Linked DNA regions of Homo sapiens: region 2 is linked to region 1. The links are contacts of gene promoters, found by promoter capture Hi-C in blood cells and fetal thymus (Javierre and others, 2016). All regions are on one chromosome and are shown on one strand. The core of a region is centred on a gene start or on the middle of the fragment in contact, and the rest is flanking DNA. Distances in the headings are between cores, read along the strand shown. Region 1 holds the start of LNPK (lunapark, ER junction formation factor). Region 2 holds the start of RBM45 (RNA binding motif protein 45).

Evidence for each region. The method cuts DNA at HindIII sites, captures the fragments that hold promoters and counts their contacts. A CHiCAGO score of 5 or more calls a contact.
Region 2: the fragment with the promoter of RBM45 here is called in contact with the fragment with the promoter of LNPK in region 1 in 6 of 17 cell types (activated CD4 T cells, non-activated CD4 T cells, total CD8 T cells and 3 more); the score reaches 9.7 in activated CD4 T cells.

Annotation. Positions count from the first base shown.
Region 1 is chr2:176,000,628-176,003,945 of GRCh38, forward strand. LNPK (lunapark, ER junction formation factor) reads right to left here and starts at 1,640. Exons shown (of 13, transcript NM_030650.3): 1 at 1,533-1,640. RefSeq lists an enhancer at 1,834-2,053. The HindIII fragment of the contact is 1,642 bases long and covers 613-2,254 here.
Region 2 is chr2:178,110,872-178,114,189 of GRCh38, forward strand. It overlaps RBM45 (RNA binding motif protein 45), which reads left to right and starts at 1,566. Exons shown (of 10, transcript NM_152945.4): 1 at 1,566-1,975. The coding sequence starts at 1,676. RefSeq lists an enhancer at 1,602-1,771. The HindIII fragment of the contact is 3,392 bases long and covers 1,142-3,318 here.

The DNA.
Region 1 (3,318 bases), core at 390-2,889:
TCTTTGAAGGAAACAGCAAAGGAAGTTCTATGTTTATCAAATTCCAAAGTTAAGTATAAGCTATTTAATCACCATCAACAGTACCTCCATAACATATTATACTATACAATTGAAGAGTAAAGGTGATTTATTCTAGAATTCTAACTTTCAAATGTCCTAACTGAAAAGACAATTCTGAAATAGCCCAAGCCACATTTATTGCTCCTCAAAAAGAATTTTAATGAAAAGTACACCTCTATTATATATTAAGCACTCTTAATATATAATGATTAGTGCTTGCTTTCATGGTAAGTCAATTTTCATCTGAACTAAATACCACCAAAAAATTACTATTTGATTATAAATGTTTCTATGTGAAGTCATATATTTTTAATAGCCATATAACTTCTCCTTTTCTTGTATTTTCTTGTTTATATAACATATAAACACTATATAAGTTTACTAACATCATTACTGAGCTGATCTCAATAGATAACAGACAACCTTAAAATTCTAATTTAAACGCACCACTCCTGTTTAAGAAAATGTGTTAAAAGTCAACTTGGTCTTCTGGGGGCTGCTGAGGAAAAGAAATGAGCATTCCCTGCCAGTTTGAACATATTCCTGAAACCAAGCTTACTCACACCCACCAAACCGCTGTTGAATAGAGTCAATTTTGTCAATGCTGACACCCAGGCCATAAAGAAAGGAGGAAACAGTAGACACCGAGCAACACACACCGGAGGCCAACTGGGAAAAGCAGAACACGGAAAACTCAGTGATTCACGGGTCTTGCTTAGTACTGTGAAAGCACCATCAGCAAAGCTGAGTTGACCAATTTCAACTCTTTCTCAATCCGTAAACTATGAACTGACGGAATTTAGATTTGTTTTTCTCCTCCTACCACGCCTCTGATACAATGCACCTTCGCCCTTCCCCTCCACCCCACAGCCCACCATCCCTGAAATAAGGACAATGGTTGGAGAGTCTCTTCTCTAAGTAGCACGTACTCCACGCCCACACGCTAGAGCCCGGCAGCATGACACTGACAGTTTTCAGTCCCTTCTGGTCTTTCTAACTCTTGGAGCCTCCGCACAACTCAGAAAGAGAAGCGGAGAGAACGCTCAAAGCGGACAGCTGAGCGTAGGAAATGCTAGTTTGGGACCTTCTGACCTCTTTGCCCCACCTGTGTCGAGATAAGCTCGACACAAGTGGGCCAAAGAGCTGGGGCTCAAGCCAGTCACCACCCGGAATCTCCTAGAACCGAGCTGGAGAAACTACCAGCCCTAGAGGGGAAACAAGGGTTTCAAGACTCCAGCGCCACCACTGCCAGTGTGCTGGGAAATCCAGGGAACAAGGCGGCGAGCCTGGGTCTGCGCGGACCACCGCGCAGCCTGACTAGCAGCCGCCGCAGAGCTCTAGGCCACTTGGCAGGAGGCGGGGGCACCAAGGAGAGGCAAGCGGGGAACCCGCAGCTTATTTCCCAGGGGCACAGCTCAGCATGCCTCCCCGCTGCAGAGCCCTCCCAACTGCCCTCGCCTTGAGCGTTCTACCTGCAAGAAGCGGGCGCAGCCCGGCCCGGGCGTCCACCCCCGCCAGTCTCGGCCGCCACCGCCCAGCCTGCCTCCAGAGCAGGCAGCAGCCGCCACTGACAGAGAGACAAGCCGGGCCAACTCCTTCCCATGAAACCCCGCGCTCCAGCCGCTCGCCAATTGGCGCCGCGGTCGGCGCGCGCCGCTCCCCCGTCACGTGACCGTACCCTGGGCGGGTAGTTGTTGGGGCGGGTCGGCCGGGAGGTTAGGATCTTGTGTTTGTGGCCTCCGCAGCCAGCTTAGGCTGCTCGGTGTCGTGTCGCAGTTATGTACTGCCATTTATTATGACTCTTAGAATATAGTTATTTCTTACTCTTCCGCTGCCTCCTTTGCTTTTAAAGCCTGTTCTGCCAAGTCTCGCTGGAGAAGGAAACCCCTGAAACTGGTCCTGGTGGTCTCAGACCGCCGCGCGAGCGAAGAGTGGGGAGGACAAAGGTTGGGGAGTTGAGAAGGATGGAGATGGGTGCATCTGGAAGGGAGTCCGTCCTGAGGAGTCCCCCATCAGCTGTCAGCCAGCCAGCAGCAAAGCAAATTAAGACTACACAGCTCCGAAGAAGCCAGTTCCCAACCAAGCCAGTGGAGAAAAGTCAGCCCGGTCCCCAGGAGTGCTTGAGGCTCTGTCACTCTTGGACGTCAAAAAGGGTCATTTGATGACTGGACGCTTACCTCACCGGTGTGAGGTAAGCTTCAAACGCCGTATCATGTTGCTTTAAAACCTGCGGGTAACAGCATAAGCTGAGTTTTCTATCTTAGAACTCTTAACCCCAAGAACACTCTTCACAGGCCCTGATAGGTGGACCCACAAAAAAACCACTCAGGCTATATTTGACTCGGATTTGAAACGCTGCCGAAACGGTATTAAGTGTCCTCCTCAACTGGAAAAGACAAATAACAAATGATGCCTGAATGAGAAAAAGACTAGACGTGCACACAGTAATGTGTGAGCAGGGAAACTTCAGCGAAGGTTTTTATCATGCTTTACCCCTTTTACATGCTTTACCCCATGTGCAAACATTTTTCATGGGTTTTTTTCTATTTTTTATTTATTTTTATTCTATTTTTTTATTTATACACAAAAAAGTTTCAATGATTTTTTAAAGAGTAATAGTTTTAATATGTTACATTTAAACTTTGACGATGCAAACAGGTTGTCAAGAGAAGCAACTGAGCATTGTTTGGTTGGTAAGAAAATTTATTATACTAGAAGCTACCGCATAATTCACTGTGCAATTTGCTTGCCCTAATTGCCTAAATATTTAGTTACAGTTCTGTACACTTGCAAGGATGAGGGGAAGGGAACTGAAGTTTAGCGTGTCACTGTGGATCAGGCACTTTCCAAATGTAGAAGAAAATGAACAGAAACATTTCACCTGTTTTGATGTGGAAATTTAACCGTTTTGTTTTTCAACCTTTGCTGTTGCAAAGTATTAAAGTCCTGTGCAGTTTTGCAAATATATCTCACCGCAGAAAGATCTCCTTTCCTAAGAAGACTGGGAAGAACGGCTTTCCACTTGCCAGTAATGTGTCCTCTGGTTTCAATTGAGCCATCAGTGTCTGTACTCCAGCCTGGGCTACCAAGCGATACCCCACCTCTGAAAAAAGGGTAGCAAGGGGACAGAGAAGAGCTGTCTGGATACACGAGATTCCAAAAACCTAATCCTGAGATAAAATTCCCTAGGGAATTGCTCTACCGAGAGTAGAGATTTGACCTGGAAAGAGAAGGGAGAGAAGTATTTAATCATTAACT
Region 2 (3,318 bases), core at 316-2,815, 2.1 Mb after region 1:
TCTAGCTCCTGGCATAGAGCCTGGCACACAGTTGGAGTACAATAAGTATTTATCTGGTTGACTTCATAGCAACCTAGGTCTTAGCATCCAGAACTTGTTCATTTGAAGAACTCCGCCCTCGGTCTACTTAGGGGTTTATTCCTTTCACTTCATTCCAATGCCACTGCTAAATCCAGGCCTTGTTTCTGGATTTCTACTGGGTTTCTGACCTCTCCTCTAAGGCTTGTTAACAAGAAGGCATTTCCCACTTTGCTTGCACTCTATGATTTCTCTTAGTTCCACAGCTGAGCAGTCCACCCTCACTGCCCTCCAACCCCAGGGTTGCTTGTAGAAGTTGAGTAAATCAACAGATGGAGTTAGTTCTGGGTTTTTTGTTGTTGTTGTTGTTGTTTGAGGTGGAGTCTCGCTCTATCCCCCAGGCTGGAGTGCAGTGGTGCAAACTCTGCTCACTGCAAGCTGTGCCTCCTGGGTTCACACCATTCTCCTGCCTCAGCCTCCTGAGTAGCTGGGACTACAGGTGCCCGCCACCACGCCAAACTAATTTTTTTGTATTTTTTTGGTAGAGACGGGGTTTCACCGTGTTAGCCAGGATGGTCTCGATCTCCTGACCTCGTGATCCGCCCGCCTCGGCCTCCCAAAGTGCTGGGATCACAGACGTGAGCCACTGCGCCTGGCCAAGTTAGTTCTGGTTTTAGTCGTACTTTTTATCTCTATTACTTTGGCTATGCTATAGGCCTCAGTTTCCTCATCTCTAACAAATGACGCTGAAATTGAATGATCTCAAAGCTTCCTTCCAACTCTAATGCTATATAGTTTGAACTCTGTCCTATATTGATCATCTATTGAGCTTATGACCAAGATGGTGACAACTCTCCACTTTGACCAAAACTTAGTTAGGCTCCTTTGAGTCCTCTGCTTGACTAGGCTTGATCTTGGGCTTTCTGTCCTTGTAGAATCCAATTTGAGCAAGAATCCTGCTGAATCAGTGTAGTGAAAATCCTCATTCTTGGTGTCTGACTACCATGGATATCAATCACCCTGGCCTGCCTTCAGCAACTATCCTGTCAAGTTGGTTTAGCCAGAATCCTCCTTAACACTGATGTTCCCTCTTTGTAATTTTCCATCCACTGACCTCCCACCAAGCTTCTTGGTTAGAAATTTGTCCTTATTAGAGTCAAAATTCAGTCCAATCTCTCTCTCCCACTGCAAGACCCCATTGCAGCTGTCCCTGGACCTATCTCCATGGCTCCCTTTGTCAAAGTCGGCCTTCCTGTACCATCTCTAACGAGTGTCATGAATAATTTTTTCTTTAACACTGGAAAGAATCCTTGGCCTTAGGGGTGGGGTAAAGCCAGCGTTGGGAAAGCCTGTGCATTAGGCAGCGCTGTTCTGCCTGCAGGGAACGATTGCACAACTGATAACTTGGGCCTAGGCTCAGCTGGATTTGAGGATTTGAGACTTAGACTGGGTCAGGGTCCCCCGCGTCGCCAGGGGGCGCTGCAGGCCGCTCCCCGGAAGGCCTCATCCTGCGCGGCTGGACAGCGCCTGGCGCCGGACTCCTCTTTCTCCCGGAAGCGGAGCACCGAGCCGGCAAAGGCTTGGGTGTGAGACAGCAGCGGTGGCAGACACCGCAGAAGCAAAGAGCAGTGAGGCTCCTGCATTCGGGTGGAGCACCATGGACGAAGCTGGCAGCTCTGCGAGCGGCGGGGGCTTCCGCCCGGGCGTGGACAGCCTGGACGAACCGCCCAACAGCCGCATCTTCCTTGTGATCAGCAAGTACACACCTGAGTCGGTGCTGAGGGAGCGCTTCTCGCCTTTTGGCGACATCCAGGACATCTGGGTGGTGCGGGACAAGCACACCAAGGAGTCCAAGGGCATTGCTTTCGTCAAGTTCGCCCGCAGCTCACAGGCCTGCAGGGCCATGGAGGAGATGCATGGCCAGTGCCTCGGCCCCAACGACACCAAGCCCATCAAGGTGCGGGTGCCCGGGTCGGGGTGCCCTCGGGGGAAGGAGTGGGCCTCTTGGACCTCCCTTCACCTGCTGCTCTGCCGGGGTGAGGGAGGAGTGGAACATCCGTTCCCGGCAGCTGACCAGACAGCACCTGGCTTGGGGACAGGGGCTGCTTTGAGGAGAGGCTCCCCTCCCACGAAGCTGCGCCGGGTTGCAGGGAAGGGGACGGGATGCGGAGTGTTTGCCCCACGAGAGCGGACCCGGCAGCCGCGGCCACCGGGTGACAGAACAGCAGTGGCTGGGCTTCCCCTCTCCCTCGCCCTCACTAATCCACCAGCTCTTGAGTTCACTGCCAAACTCGTCCTAGCCTACTTTGAGTACTTTTCTGACCTTCCTCTCTCAGATGCCCAGATTTCCATATATAAAAAACGGAAAAACTCTACTTTTCCTCAGGTACAGATGAGGCGTTAACAACTTGACAGAAGTACTTTAAACTGGGGAGGGACCTCTGGTGTTGGACGTTTTCCTAGTACCAGGCGAAAGAATACATGTACAGAAAGAATAAGTGCAGGTGTTTAAAACGGTCACTGTTACATATTCTTCACATTTTGTTATTTTGGAAAATTGTTTTGAATGAGCTCTGTTTCTGAAAGTGTTAATAGCATACATTTGGTTCTTGACCCTTTCTGTTACTGCAACTTTTCTTTGAAAGCAGACCAAAGTAAACTGCCTTAAGAAGAGCCAAATCATTGTGATAATGACACATGGCAGGAAGGATCATTTTGAGGGTTATTTGACATAATATGTGCTGTCAGCACAGTGCCTCACACAGGGTAAGCCCTCAATAATGTCCTTGTTATTGATCAGTAGTAGCCAAGATGTCACAGCTTACTCCCTGTGATCTCAAATCAGGACTCAATCCTGAGAATCTGGCAATTGCTTAAATTGTAGCCTTCGTCTGCCCCATGTAAATAGTTGCTGTGTATGTTATTCTGTTGGTACTTTGCACAAAAATATTTTCTCAATTTTTTAAAAAATTGTTTTCCAAACTGAGAATGGTATTAATATGGATTTATGTAAATAAAGGGCTCAGAGATATTTCAGTCTCTGGAGGTCTTGCTCCATCCACCAAAGAGAAGGAGCCTGGGACTCTACCAACAACACAGTAAACAGTCCCTTCCTCCCACTTCTCCAACCCTCTGAAGTGTGTCAGAGTGACAGCAACAAAATTAATTGTAGGGCCACAGCATACAGGATCAGGAATTGGCAAACTTTTTCTGTAAAGGGCTGACTAGTAAATATTTTAGGCTTTGCAGGCCACATACAGTCTCTGTCACATAACCTTGTCTGTTTTTACAGTCCTTAAA